2 separate regions of the Homo sapiens genome follow, and region 2 is linked to region 1. Evidence: promoter capture Hi-C in human tissues and cell types (Jung and others, 2019). All regions are on one chromosome and are shown on one strand. The core of a region is centred on a gene start or on the middle of the fragment in contact, and the rest is flanking DNA. Distances in the headings are between cores, read along the strand shown. Region 1 holds the start of SCNN1G (sodium channel epithelial 1 subunit gamma). Region 2 overlaps SCNN1B (sodium channel epithelial 1 subunit beta).

What was found. Contacts are between HindIII fragments. The study calls those that stand out against the background at their distance.
Region 2: a fragment that was not itself captured here is called in contact with the fragment with the promoter of SCNN1G in region 1 in 1 of the 25 tissues and cell types used here (pancreas).

The regions. Positions count from the first base shown.
Region 1 is chr16:23,179,315-23,187,173 of GRCh38, reverse strand. It overlaps SCNN1G (sodium channel epithelial 1 subunit gamma), which reads right to left and starts at 4,429. Exons shown (of 13, transcript NM_001039.4): 1 at 4,361-4,429; 2 at 586-946. The coding sequence starts at 902. RefSeq lists enhancers at 421-920, 921-1,422 and a silencer at 4,458-4,707. The HindIII fragment of the contact is 8,387 bases long and covers 3,090-7,859 here.
Region 2 is chr16:23,340,874-23,348,015 of GRCh38, reverse strand. The region is part of intron 1 of SCNN1B (sodium channel epithelial 1 subunit beta); the gene reads right to left. Among named protein-coding and RNA genes, the nearest start is that of SCNN1B, 42 kb to the right of the region's middle. The HindIII fragment of the contact is 4,323 bases long and covers 1-3,957 here.

The DNA of each region.
Region 1 (7,859 bases), core at 3,180-5,679:
TTGCACCACTGCACTCCAGCTTGGGTGACAGAGTGAGACCCTGCCTCCAAAAAAAAAAAAAAAAAAAGAAAAGGCCAGGTACTGTGGCTCACACCTGTAATCCAAGCACTTTGGGAGGCCAAGGCGGGTGGATCACCTGAGGTCAGGAGTTCAAGACCAGCCTGGCCAAGCATGGTGAAATCCTGTCTCTACTAAAAACACAAAAAAATTAGCCTGGCGCTGTGGTACACCCCTGTAGTCCCAGCTACTCGGGAGGATTGTTAGAACCTGGGAGGTGGAGGTTGCAGTGAGCCGAGATCGCACCACTGCATCCCAGCCTGGGCAACAAGAGCGAAACTCCATCTCAAAAAAGGAAAAAGAAAAGAAAAAAAACAAGTCACTGATGGTCTGAAAACTTGGTACATACAGATTTAGAACTGGGGAGGGGGCTGTTTACCAGCGTTAGCAACAAATTCAAATTTCTAGAAAGCACATTTGTAGGCTGGAATCGACCTCCAGGCTGCCAGTGTGTCACTTTCGGGAGGGGCTTTGGCCTCTGTGGGGGGCCTGGCTCCCTACTCGCGTTTCCCTGCTCATGCCTCTTACTTGTAGGGGTTGATGTTGCAGATGGTGACTGCAGGAAAATCCAGCTTCCGGAAGTGGACTTTGATGGAAACTGAGACAGTATAGAAGGAGAAGACGAGGAGGGCGCACTGCCAGAGGATGAGGGCCACGGCAGTCAGTGTGAACCCGATCCAGAGGAGGCGGCGCAGACGGCCGCGGGACACCACGATGCGGCGACAGCCATGGGTGTTGGTGTTGAGGCAGTACCACCGCATCAGCTCTTTAATGGTCGGCGCCTGAGGGCCCGTCACGGGCAGATTCTTCTTGATTTTGGCTTTGATCTTCTCTCCGGGTGCCATGGCGAGGATGGGACTTTGAGGACGGGACTCTGAGGACGGGCGTGCTGGAGGGGCAAAGAAGAGAAGCAGGTGAGCTGGCAGGCACTAGCCGGCTAGTGTGTCCCTGGAGACCACAGTCTGGGAAACACCAGTCCATGCGCCCTTAGAGACCTCCTTCCTCTGTTCCTCTGTGGCTTAGGCACTTTGCATTCTGAATCCTTGGCCCCTTTTCCACGGGACGTTTGTTTTTGGCCACCACAGCTGCCAGAGAAGCTGCCTACTTCTCTTACGGCCCCCAGGCCTAGCCGTGCGGGGGCTGGGTGAGGTGCAACCTGCGAAGCGCTGGCTGGACAGGCTGCAGGACCTTTCCCCGGGTTCCTGGGCAGGAACTCTGGAAGCAGCCCCATCAGCTCTCTTATCAGGCAGGGGTACCCGTGCCTTATCACCTCCAGTAGCCCGCCTTCCTCAAGGGCAGCATTCCTATCTCATTATGCCCCCTGGTTCCTAGCACAGTGTCTGGCACAGAGCAGTGCTCGGCAGATTGTAACTGACAGATGAAATCTGCCAAGAAAATTTCCCGGCAGCCACCTTAGATCATGTTCCTGGCTGCATTTTCCCCAGCCTTTTCTCTGAGGCTTTATTATAAGTGAAACGATTTCTCTTTTGTTTCTTCTCTTTACAGTCAAGCTCTTAATGTTTCTAGATCACCTGATGTAACAATAACCTGCAACTATTGGCCACTTAGTGTTTGCCAGGCATTGTGCCATATTTCCTTGATTCTAAGATACCATTAATTTAGAGAATGCCCTTGATTTAATAACAGCTTTGGGGGAGAGTACCAGTATTGGAAGGCAAATTATCACATTCATCAATGTGCACGATGCATCTCAACTATACAAACTTTACAATGAGAAATAATTTTAGAAATGAACTAATATACTACATAAAAACTCATTTCATGTTTATAATATATAGTCTCATTAGTCTCATAAGTAAATTTGTCTCTCTCTATAAATATACACATAGCCTACATATATTTCCTTTTGTGTTTCAATAATTCCATGAAGTAGGCATGCTATTATTATATCCATGTTACAGAGGAGAAAAATGGGCTCAGAGAGGTTGAATATCTTGTGTAAGATGATGCAGCTGGTTAGTGGAGGAGCTGGATGGAACCCTGCAGCCTTCACCGCTATGGCATACGCCTTTGAGGGGCCTGGTAGTACGCTGGGTGCAGGGAGTTAATTAACAATACCAAGAACTAAAGGTAGGAGGAAAGAGAAGGAACACAGCTATTTAATTTCCAAACTCTGAACAGTGCACATGACCACTTCCCAAGACTTGTGAGCACTAGTATTGGGGGTGGGGGATATATGAAAACTGTGTCGTCCTATGCCTTCTACAGTGACAAAGGCAAATTAGGACATATCCTAGGGCATACAGGGTGGTCCCCAGGACCAGAGAGGACCCATGTCTGTGACTTCGATGTGCCCCATCAAGATTTTTAGGCAGTATTCGGAACCTGCAGAGTTATGTCTTTTTTTCCCACCCTGAACCCATGAAATATGGGCTAAAATTGGAAGCTGGGGCAAAGCTAGGAGGCTTCCAAGCTTATGATGCTAGTGGGTTTAAGGCCTCAGATGGAAAGGAAATGGAGTGCTGGGCATGGAGGTGAGATGTCCAGAGCAGACAAACTGCTCTAAACCCTCCATAGATTGATATGATTTTGCTGGGATGAAGAACACCATCAAAATGATGCTAGTAGCCTCTGGGCAAGAGGAATATAATTTATTTTTTTATCACTTAAAATATTGCCTATCCTTACCTCCTCCCTCACTACAATCCAAAAAAATAAAAAATGAAATAAAGAAGAAGGAAAGAAAGAAAAAAATTAGCGAGAGTTTGTTTTTAAAATCTAGGTCCAGGTTCAATTGCTTGTCAAATAAAACTGCAGCCCTCCTCTGTGAATGTTCAACAGAAGCTGTGATTCTGGAAGCTCCTATCCCCAGCTCTCAGGGGTACCTCTGCCCCATCAGCCCCTTCCCCAGAACCGACCTTGACCCCAATGGATCAGTCGACAATGTCAGAGGAGCCCCCAAGTGAAGGAAGGGAACTGATCTTGCTCTTTGCAAAACAGATAAAATATTCATATAAATAATATTTCAACTTCAAAGCAAAACAAGACTGTAGCTACCATTAGATTATGCAGCCTGAGCCAATGTGATACCCTTGGTGGAAGAATTACTAGCTGATACCCAGCACTTACTCTTCTAAGTACTTTGCAGCTGTCACCTCATTTAATTTTCACGATAATCGTCTGAGGTAGGTATCACAACCACCTCCATTGTACAAATGAAACAGACGCTGACAGGTTAAGTAGCTTGCCCAAGGTCACACTAGAAAGTGGCTGAGCTGGGATTTGCACCTAGGAGTCCCTTTAACGACTAACTAGGCTGCTCTTCAATCATTAATAATAATAACAGCAGCAGGGAAAGCAGCAATAATGGCAGCTATCACTTATTGATCCCTTTCTGTACTCCCAGGCATCCCACTCAGTCCTTTTCACACACTACCTGATTTAATCCTCACTACAGTTATATGAGGTGCTATTACTTGGCCCATTTCACAGAGAAGGAAACTGAGGCACAGAGGTTAGGTAATTTGCCCAAGACCACACAGGTAGAAAGGATTTGAAGGATTCTTTAGAATTCCAGGGCCCTGGCTCATCGCAGCGGCTCCGTGCACCCCCTCCTCACCTACCACCGACTTTGCCTGTCCCCCATCCCACAGTGCAGGACCCCAAAGCTTGGAGAGGGATGAGAGATTTGCCCCAAGTCTAGCGTTGGGTTCGCTGGACCGGAGAGTTCCCGATCAGTGCCCGTCCCGAAGGGCGAGTCCTGTGCAGAAATCACTTGAACTCAACCTCAGGGCCCTGACCCGAGCTCCTGCCGAGCGACCCCGCAGCCCTGCCCTCCCTGCGCGGAGCGAGCGGGCGCTGTCCTGTGGCGGAAGCCACGTCTGCCCCGGGGGAGCGCCGGCTGAAGGCGCTGGAGCGAATCCAACCAGCCCACTTCAAGTGTTTGCTTCTTTCTGCACCAAGTCACCCCGGAGAAAGCATTCCAGAGGGTAGAAGGAACAGTAGCGGACAGGTCCACGCGACTCACCCCGGCAGGGAAGGGGGCTGAACAGGCGCTGGGCGGAGAAAAGAGGCCAGGTGTGGCCCGGGACCCCCAGACCCCCGGACTCTGAGTGGCTCTCGACTGGCTTCGTGCTCCGGGCCACGGCGTGGGTAGACCCGGGAGAGCTGGCCGCTACCGCCCGGGCAAGGTGTCCCAGCATCCCGGGCACCGGGAAGCCGCCACCGGCTGATGCTGGCTCGGCCACCCACCGCGCTGACGGCGTCCGACGCCCTGGCGCCCGGCATCCGCTCCAGTGCCCAGAACCCCCGAGCTGGTCCGACCCAACCCGGCTGAACTCACCTTTCGGTTCCAAAGGGTCCAAGGCTCGTGCGGGTGCGCTGCTCCTCTGCTCGCTCTCGGGCTAGCATCCCCTGGCAGCGCCACCGCGGGCTCTTGTGGGCCGGCCAGGCCCCGCCCCCTAGGGACCCGCCTCCCCAGGCCCCGCCCCCACCTGCCCAGGTGCTTTCCCCAGGCCGCCAGGCACCTGAGACCGCCCGGAGCGGGCCACGACTTCACAACGCCCCCTGGCGCCCCGAAGCCGCCCTGCGCCCCAGCCCGGCCGCGCTGCGTCTTCCTGGGCCACCGCGCAGTGCCTGCTGCCGCCCCGAGGCCGCCCTGCCATCCTGCATTCCCGCTGGGTCTCTGCGGCACTTACCCCAAGGCGCCTCAAAGCGCCTGCTGCCCCCTATTACTGCCCCGCGACTTCCTTCCACTCCCGTCCAGATGGCAGGTGCCTGCCCTAGCACCAGCAGTAATCCCACGCAGCCTCGCTCCTCGGACTCCCTCCAGACCTGCAGCTTCAGTGCCCACCAGCGTCCGGCTGTAGGCAGCAGGGGCTGTTCAGCCAGGCCACTCATCCTTTGACCTTTTCAGCTGCTTCTTTCTCTTTCTTTCGTTATTTCCTCCTTCCTTCTTCTTTCTTTTCCTCTTTCCTTCTTTTTTTTTTTTTTTGACGGAGTCTCGCTCTGTCGCCCAGTCTGGAGTGCAATGACGCTATCTCAGCTCACTACAACCTCCGCCTCCCGGGTTCAAGCAATTCTCCTGCCTCAGCCTCCCAAGTAGCTGGGGTTACAGGCGCGCGCCACCATGCCCGGATTAATTTTTGTGTTTTTAGTAGAGACGCGGTTTCACCATGTTGGCCAGGCTGGTCTCAAACTACTGACCTCAGGTGATCCACGCGTCTTGGCCTCCCAAAGTGCTGGGATTACAGGTGTGAGCCACCGCGCCTGGCCTGTCCTTCTTTCTCTTTCTCTCTTTCTTTCCTTTCTTTCCTCCTTCCTTCCTTGCCTGCCTGCCTGCCTTCCCGCCCGCCCACCTTCCTTCCTTCCTTCCTTCCTTCCTTCCTTCCTTCCTTCCTTCCTTCCTTCCTTTCTCTTTCTTGCTTGCTTGCCTTCCTTCCTTCCTTCCTCCCTCTTTCTTCTTTCTCTCTCTCCCTTCCTTCCTTCCTCCCTCCCTCCCTCCTTTTTCTTTCTTCCTTTCTTTCTTTCTTTCTTTCTTTTTCTTTCTTTCTTTCCTCTATTTCTCTCTTTCTTTTTTTAACAGGGTCTGCCTCTGTCACCTTGGCTGGAGTGCAGTGCTGCAATCATAGCTCACTGTAGCTGCCAACTACTGGGCTCAAGCGAGCCTCCCACTTCAGCGTCTCAAATAGCTGGAATTACAGAGGTAAGCCACCTTTCCTAGCTTCAGCTGCCTTTTTATAGGGACTCAGATAACTACAAGAAACGAGATTAGAAAACTGCAATTGGGAGGGACCATAGAGACACAGCCCCTTTGTGCCGGGGAGAAACTGAAGCCCAGAGAGAGGAAAGGATCTGTTCTTACCTAGAGCTTCTCAGATTTGAATGTGGTTACAATCACCTATGGATGTTGTTAAAATGCAGATTCTGACTCGATAGGGGTGGAGTGGGTCTTAAGAGTCCGAATTTCCAAATTCCTAGGAGATGCCTTGGTTGCTGGTCCAAGGGCGGTTTGCCCAGGTGGATGGAAACAGGTCCAGCATTATTGGAGAGAAATTTAAAGAAAATCCTCTAAAAAATCTCAGCTGCTTCTTCTAACAATATATGCTCATTGCAAAGAATTAAAACAATAAACTGTGCCCCCCCCTCCCCAAATAAGCATGGCTAACAGTTTGGTTATTATTTGGTGTGTGTGTATGTGTGTGTGTCCACACACACATATTAGTTTTATATATATACACATACATATATAATGGGATTTTGAAACACACACTGTTCAAATTCTATGTTTGTTTTGAATGACAATACACAGTTATATTCTCACTGCAAAATAAAGCCAGCTTTTTCTTCTTTTTGTCTTTTAAATTATTTATTTATTTATTTATTTTGAGACAGGGTCTTGCTCTGTCACCCAGGCTGGAATGTAGTGGCATGATCATGGCTTACTGCAGTCTCAACTTCCTGTGGCTCCAAGGATCCTCCCACCTCAGCCTCCCAAGTAGCTGGGACCCCAGGTGCATGCCACCGATACCCAACTAATTTTTTTTTTTTTTTTTTTTTGGTAGAGAAGGGGTTTCACCATGTTTGCAAGGCTGGTCTTGAACTCCCGAGTTCAAGGGATCTACCCATCTCAGCCTCCCAAAGTGCTGGCATTATAGGCATGGAATTAGGCTAGATTCAAGTTAAAATTTATATACAGTGAAACGCACAATTTTTTTGTTTGTTTGTTTTTGAGGCAAGGTTTTGCTCTGTCACCCAGGGTGGAATGCAGTGGTGTGATCATAGCTCACTGCAGCCTCCAACTCCTGGGCTCAAGCAATCCTCCTGCCTCAGATTACAAAATAGTAGCTAGGACTAGAGGTCTGTGCCACCATGCCTGGCTAATTTTTTATTTTTGTGGAGATGGAATTTCACTATGTTGCCCAGGCTGGTCTTGAACTCCTGGCCTCAAGAAATTTGCCTGCCTTGGCCTCTCAAAGTGTTATGATTGCAGGCATGAGCCACTGCACCTGGCCCAAAATGTACAAGTCAAGGAGTTTTGGTAAATGTGTACACTCCTATGACCAACACCATCTGATTCTTCAGTACAGAGTGGTATTGCCTCTAAACCACTCCTGTCATCATAAGACCATAGGCAACGTCCTCTCCTTCTTGAAGCATCAGTGTTCAGATTTATAAAATATACCTAGAATCTACTTCTCCCCACCTCTGGGGCCACCACCATGCTCTAATTGATCATTGTCTCTCACCCGAATCATTGCCATAGGCTCCTCACTAATCTTGCTAATTCTGCCCTCCACAGCCTCTTGTCAATAAGCCAGTCAAAGAGATTCTTATTGAATTAAGGTTAGATCATGCCATTTCTCTATTTAAACCCATTCAGTGGCTTCTTGCTTCATTTATAATGAAAGCCAAAATCCTTATGGTCATCTGCAAGGCCCTCCATCATCTGACCCTGTTGTCCCTCTGCCCTCGTCTCTTCCTACTCACACTCGCATATTCTGCTTCACCTTCACTGGCCTCCGTGCCATCCTTGCATATGACTATGACCGAACCTAGCCTTAGCAAAGTCATTTGGTTTCAGGCAACAGAAACAGACTCAAATTAGCTCAAGCAGAATCAATAAATTATTAAATGGATGCAGGCAGGGCTCCTTTACAGAATCCAAAGAAACACAGAGGGTCTCAGGAGAATGGGAACCAGGAAAGGTCTGGATCTCTCAGGAGGAGGATTTTGTGGTCTTTTTTTATTTTTATTTTTACTTGAGACAGGGTCTGGCTTTGTCACCCAGGCTGGAGTGCAGTGGTGCGATCTCGGCTCACTGCAACCTCCACCTCCTGGGC
Region 2 (7,142 bases), core at 547-3,046, 160 kb before region 1:
CCTCAGCTGCAGAGATAGGCTCTGGCCACTGTGACCTTGAACTGAATAAGTGGGTAAATAATGATCTTACTTGTTTTTATTAATCTTTCTTTTTCTTTTTCTTTTTTCAGATAGGGTCTCACTCTCTTACCCAGCCTAGAGCGCAGTGGCGCAGTCATGGCTCACTGCAATCTCTACCTCCCAGGCTCAAGAGATCCTCCCACCTCAGCCTCCTAAGTAGCTGGGATTATAGGCATGCACACCACCATATCAGTGAATTTTTGTATTTTTAGTGGAGACGGGGTTTCACCGTGTTGCCCAGGCTGGTCTCAAACTCCTGAGCTCAAGTGATCCACCCACCTCAGCATCCCAAAGTGCTGGCATTACAGGCATGAACCACCGCACCTGGTCTTAATCTTTCTTAAATGTATGTATAGCTCATATTTATTTCAATGTTTAATATTAGAAGCATTTTGGTCTTTACTTAGAAATTTGGTGACTTTTTTTGTGACCAGAAATAGGCCATAGGAGCTTAACTCTTGTTGATATCAATTAGCCTATGGTGAAATTGATTTCATTAGACATCGTTTAGCCTAGAGTTGCAGTTTCCAAGAACATATCAACAATGTTAAGTGAAGACTTACTGTAACAATTACATCTAACTTACAGGATTGCTGAGAGGAGGAAATTCGGCGATGCACAAAAAGTGCTATGGACTGAGCCTAGCACAGGCCAGGTCCTCAGTATGCCAGTTTCCATTGTCACTAGCTGTCGGTGGGTAAGACAGATGTTAAGCGAAGAATCCATCAAAAAAGCAGAGCTATGAAACATGACAGGAAAGATTGGGACCCCATGCCCTGAGATGCTAGAGGCATTAAAGGCTGGTGGTTTAGAATAAGGATTCTGTAACCAAATTTTCTGGCTTTTTGTTTGTTTGTTTGAGACAGGGTCTCACTCTATCACCCAGGCTGGAGTGCAGTGGCATGATCATGGCTCACTGCAGCCTCGAACTCCTGGGAAATTTCTGGCTTTGACTCTCAGCCCTGCTGCTTCCTAGCTTGTGACTTTGAGCAAATCTCCTTCTCAGTCCTTCAGTTTCCTCATCCATAAAATGGGGATAATTACAGCTTCCACCTGATAAAGCTGTCGTGGAGGCTGGCTGCATGAAAATATGGAGAGGGTAGATTCATGCCTGGCACCTAAGTGTCAGCGATTTTTATTAGAAAACGGAGGCCTGGCCAGGTCTGAGAGTCCTTGGAGAAGTGATGGAGGAGCTGAGGTTAAAGGATAGGAGAGGGGAGGGGAAGGGGGAAGGCTGAAGTGGGGAGGGAGCCTGCAGGGGTGGGGAGGGAGCCTGCAGGGGTGGGGAGGGAGCCTGCAAGGGTGAGCAGGGCCAGGCCACGCAAGGGCTTGTGGACTGTGTTAAAGATTAGGGTTTCAATCCCAAGAGAACTGGAACCTTTGGAGGCATGAGGGTGTGATGCCATCAAAGCTGGGATTTGAAAAGGGCATTCCAGCCAGGTGCGGTGGCTCATGCCTGTAATCCCAGCACTTTGGGAGGCTGAGGCAGGAGGATCACCTGAGGTCAGGAGTTTGAGACTAGCCTGGCCAACATAGTGAAACCCTGTCTCTACTAAAAATACAAAAATTAGCTGGTGGCGGGCCCTTGTAATCCCAGCTACCTGGGAGGCTGAGGCAGGAGAACTGCTTTAGCCTGGGAGGTGGAGGTTGCAGTGAGCCGAGATTGCACTGAGCTGAGATCGCCCCACTGCACTCCAGCCTGGACGACAGAGTGAGACTCCGTCTCAAAAAAAAAAAAAAAAAAAAAAAAAAAAAGAAAAGGAAAAAAGGGTGTTCCATGGATACAAATTAGAATGGGGTGAGGTTGTGTCCGGAGCATGAGGTTGGAGAGTATGGGTCATGGATGAGGAATGCCAGAGTTTTCTGAGACTCTGTTTCCCATATGCATGAGAGGGCAGGTTCTTGTGAAGACCACCAGGTACTTGTTATGGCACATGAGGGTTTCTAAGGACATTCCTGCTTCCCCCTCCCTTCTCTCTGGACACAGAGCAGGAACCTGCGGCAGGAGCATCCCAGCTCTATTCCTGGAGCTCCAGTTGTATTTGATCTTTAAGGTCCAGACCAAAGGCCACTTCCTCCATGAAGCTCTCCTGACTTCAGGCTGGACCCTCACCCCCTCTGAGAGCCTTTCCCTTCTGGGGGCACCATGCTGGGCAGTGTGGTTCCTCTGTGCCCAGCATACTCTCCCCCTTGCACTGAGGTTTCAGGTGAAGATATCCCGCTGTCCCTTTCATCTCAGTTGGTGTGAGTTGCCAGGCTGATCTCTCCTCTTAGCTCTGGGAGATGTGCATGTGACTCAAAGTGGAACATTAGGACTCAATTCTATTCGTTTATATTGGAATAACTGAAGGAGAGACCTCACTTTTAACTAAGCCTACTAAGCTGGTGGTATTTGGCAGCCCAAACGGGAAGTCTTCCTGAGAATAAAGCCAATACAGAGGAAAGAAGAGGCACGAGATGGAGAGAAATTTCTGACTTTGCCATTTGAACACCTGGATCCAGCCATGCCTGAAGCCATTCATTCCTGGCCTCATCAGATATGGAAACAATACATTTTCTTTCTTATTTATGCATATCCAAATTGGATGCCTGCCATTTGCACCCATAAGAAGCTTAATAGTAAAATAAATTGACCCTTGTTTTATCCTGTGTTCTAGTTTCTTGTGCCTGTGGCTTCTCCCGGGAGATCGCAAGCCCCTTGAGGGCAGCAGCTCTGTATCCCTGACAAAGCCCAGCACAGTGCCTGACACCCCACAGAATATCCAGATGTATAAGGTCAGACCTTCACGTCTAAACAGAGATGTTAAACCTGCCCAAGCATATTCACTCCTGATCCAATTATCTGACACAGTAACATTTCTCACCTTCCTTCCCCAGAAGGAGTCTTGGCCAAAGCATGAAGTGCTTTCTTCTCCAACTCTGTTCTCTCTCTCTCTCTCTCTCTCTTTCTCTCTCCTCTCTCTCGACAGGCTCTCGCTCTGTTGCCCAGGCTGGGGTGCAGTGGCACGATCTTGACTCACTGCAACCTCCACCTCCCGGGCTCAGGTGATCCTCCCACCTTAGCCACTTGAGTAGCTGGGACTACAGGCGCATGCCACCATGCCCAGCTAATTTTTGTATTTTCAGTAGAGATAAGGTTTTGCCATGTTGCCCAGGCTTGTCTCGAACTCCTGGGATCAAGCGATCCACCCGCATTGGCTTCCCAAAGTGCTTGGACTACAGGTGTGAGCCACTGCACCCCACCTCCAACTCCATTCTCTGATAGGAATTAAACTCTATGTGCCTGCCCAAGCCATCATGGCTGTAAGAGGATGTTCATAGAGTAACCCCACTCCCAACTTTCCCCAGAAGGTCTATTCCCTGCTCTGAAATAATAAAGTAATAACAGTTATTATAATAGCAACTACAAGAGCAACATCAAAGTATTAAATGTTTGCCATGACTCAAGCATATGGGAAGAACCAAGGCTTCGTCTGCCTTATATAGTCTAGCACCCCAAAGCCACATAGGTGAACATCACATTAGGTTCCAATAGGTAGTTGTAGAAGATATAAAGGGCCTCTAGAATGTCTACCCTTTTCTATTCTCATGTAATTATTCTGATTTAGTCAAGGAGAAAGTCTCAGCTTGGTACCAACAGCTCCTTAACACCTCTCCAACCCTTCTAATCTCCGGGTTTAACAATGAGGCCTCAGGCTCAGGCAACAGTATCTAGTTAGAATGGGTAACATTCTGTTTTCACTGGGCTTACTTTTAAGAGCCACCTTCTACTTATGGCAAGAGATACTGACTTTTGCTTTATGTTCATAAACGTGCTTAAGTAAAAAAAGGGGAATTGATTTAAAGAAAAATGTTTAAGTAAACAACAGTACTACAGGTAGCAAAAGTTGTTACAATGGTAGGCAAATAACAGAAGTGTGTTGAGTATTGGCTGAGCATCTAACTAGTCTGGCCCCTTGGGTCATTAGCCAGATCAAACTCAGTAAGTGCTGCAAACAACTTTATGATGTTCTGGTCAGATTTCACCCCCACGGTGATAGATGGTCTGTGTTTGGAATGTATACACAGTTTATGGAGAAGGGATTGAATCAGTGTACAGCTTAACCCAATCCAAACAAGTAAAGTAGAGACTAAGTCCATGTGTGCACACAGAAAGAGACACCAATTGTCATGCTTCAGAGTCACAGATTGCTGACTATACATTGGCCCTGAACTCATGGTAAATGTTCCTGTTAGCAAATGCAAAAACAATAAATGTGGAAAAGTGTTTCGGCTTTTTTTTTTCTTCCTTCCTTCCTTTCTTTTTTTCTTTCTTTCTTTCTTTCTTTCTTTCTTTCTTTCTTTCTTTCTTTCTTTCTTTCTTTCTTTCTTTCTCTTTTTCTTTCTTTCTTTTTTCCTTCCTTCCTTCCCTCCCTCCCTCCCTCTTTCTTCCTTCCTTCCTTCCTTTTCCTTCCTTCCTTCCTTCCTTCCTTCCTTCCTTTCTTTCTTTTCCTTTTTTTATTTTTGGCAAACTTTTGCTCTTGTTGCCCAGGCTGGAGTGCGATCGCGTGACCTCAGCTCACTGCAACCTCCACCTCCCAGGTTCAAGCAATTCTCTTGCCTCAGCCTCCAGAGTAGCTAGGATTACAGGCATGCACCACCACGCCCGGCTAATTTTGTATTATTAATAGTGACGGGGTTTATCCATGTTGGTCAGGCTGGTCTCGATCTCCTGACCTGGTGATCTGCCCTCCTTGGCCTCCCAAAGCGCTGGGATTACAGGCATGAGCCACCATGCCCAGCCCTGTTTCAGTTCTCTTACGAGACAGGTTTTCTTCTATGCTTTCTTCTGAGTGTTTTATAGTTTTATTAGGTCTATGAACCATTTGAAGTTAGTTTTTGCATATAGTGTGGGGTAGGAGCTAAGATTCCCTTTAAAAAATATGGACAACTATTTGTTTTAGCATTTTTTGTTGTGTGTTCCATTTAAAGTGTAGAATTCACTGGATTTCAGTATATTCACATTGTTCAACTATCATCACAATCAATTTTAAAACATCTTTATTTCCCCTAAAGAAAACTCCATGCCCATTAGAAGTTATTTCTCATTCCTCTCTCCACCCTCCTCCTCCCCATCAGAAACCACTTATCTATTCTCTGTCTCTCTAGATTTGCCTGTTTTGGATGTTTCATATAAATCAAGCTTTTCCATCCTGCGGCCTGCAGGCCACAGGCAGCCCAGGATGGCTTTGAATGTGGCCCAACACAAATTCATAAACTTTCTTAAAACACTAGGAGATTTTTTTTTTTCTTAGCTCATCAGCTATTGTTAGTGTTAGTCCATTTTATAAGTGGCCCAAGATAATTCTTCTTCCAATGTGGTCCAGGGAAGCCAAAAGATTGGACACCCCTAATAGAAACAGAATTGCAGGCTGGGCACAGTGGCTCATGCCTATAATTCCAGCAATTTGGGAGGGTGAGGTGGGTGGATCACTTGAGGTCAAGAGTTCAAGGCCAGCCTAGCCAATATGGTACAGCCCTGTCTCTAGTAAAAATACAAAATTAGCCGGGTGTGGTGGCACGTGCCTGTAATCCCTGCTACTCAGGAGACTGAGGCAGGAGACTTGCTTGAGCCTGGGAGGCAGAGTTTGCAGTGAGCAGAGATTGTGCCACGGCACTCCAGCCTGGGTGTCAAGAGTGAAACTCTGTCTCAACAAACAAAAAACGGAATTGCACAATGTGTGGTCTTTTCTGACTGGCTTCTTTCACTTAGTGTGTTTTAAAGGTACGTTGCAGCATGTATTAGTGCTTCATTTCTTTCTATTGCTAAATAATATCCCATATTATGTTGAGACTACATTTTATTTATCCATTCATCAGTTGATGGACAGTTGGGTTGTTTTTACTTTTTGGCTGTTATGATAATACTGCTATGAATGATCTTGTATAAGTTTTGTGTAGAAATAGGTTTCATTTCTCTTGGTTATATATCCAGGAGTGGTCTCGAACTCCTGATCTGAGTCTGATGGTAATTCTATGTTTAACCTTTTGAGGAACTGCAAGACTGTTTTCCAAAATGGCTGCACTACTTAACAATTTCACCCGGTGTGTGAGAGTTCTAATCTCTCCACATCCTCTCCAAAACTTATTATCCATTTTAAAAAGTTATTACAGCTACCTTAATGGGGTGTGAAGTGATATCTTACGTTGGTTTCAATTTGCGTTTTCCTGATAGCTATGATGTTGAACTTCTTCTCATAGGCTTATATATTGGCCATTAGATCCATTATATGGCCAGTATATCTTCTTTGGAGAAATGTCTATTCAGATCCTTCATCATTTTTTAACTGGGCTATTTATCTTTTTATTACTGAGTTGCAAGAGTTATTTATATATTCTATACACAAGTCCCTTAACAGACAGGACTTGCAAACATTGTCTTTCCTTCTCTGTGGGTTGTCTTTTTACTTTCTTGATGGTGTCCTTTGAAGAACAAAAGTTTTTAAGTTTGATGATGCCAAATTTCTCTATATTTCTTTTTTGCGTGTGTGCTTTGGTTTCATATCTAAGACTCTATTGCCTAATCCAAGGTCCTGAAGATCTGTTTCTATGCTTTACTCTAAGGACTTTATAGTTCCAGCTCTTATATTTAAGTCTTTGATTCATTTTGAATTAATTTACATATATAGTGTGAGATAGGAATCCAACTTCATTGTTTTTCATGTACCTATCCACTTGTCCCAGCACCCAGACTATTCTTTCTCCCATTTAATTGTCTTGGCACCTTGTCTGATGTTTTAGCATTTAAATGAAAAGAAAGCTTAAATAAATGGAGATCTATACCATGCTCATAGATTAGAAGACTCAATATTGTTAAGATGTCAATTAACCTCTAGAGTCAACTCACACGTAATCTCTAGAGTCTACTCAATTTCAACCAAAATCCTAGCAGAATTTTTGTAGAAATTGACAAACTGATTCTAAAATATGTATGGAAAAGCAAAAGAACTAAAACAGCAAAAACAAAACAAAATCAGACACACATGCATGTGTACACATGCACACACACACACACACACTTCAAAGCAACATTTTAAAAAACT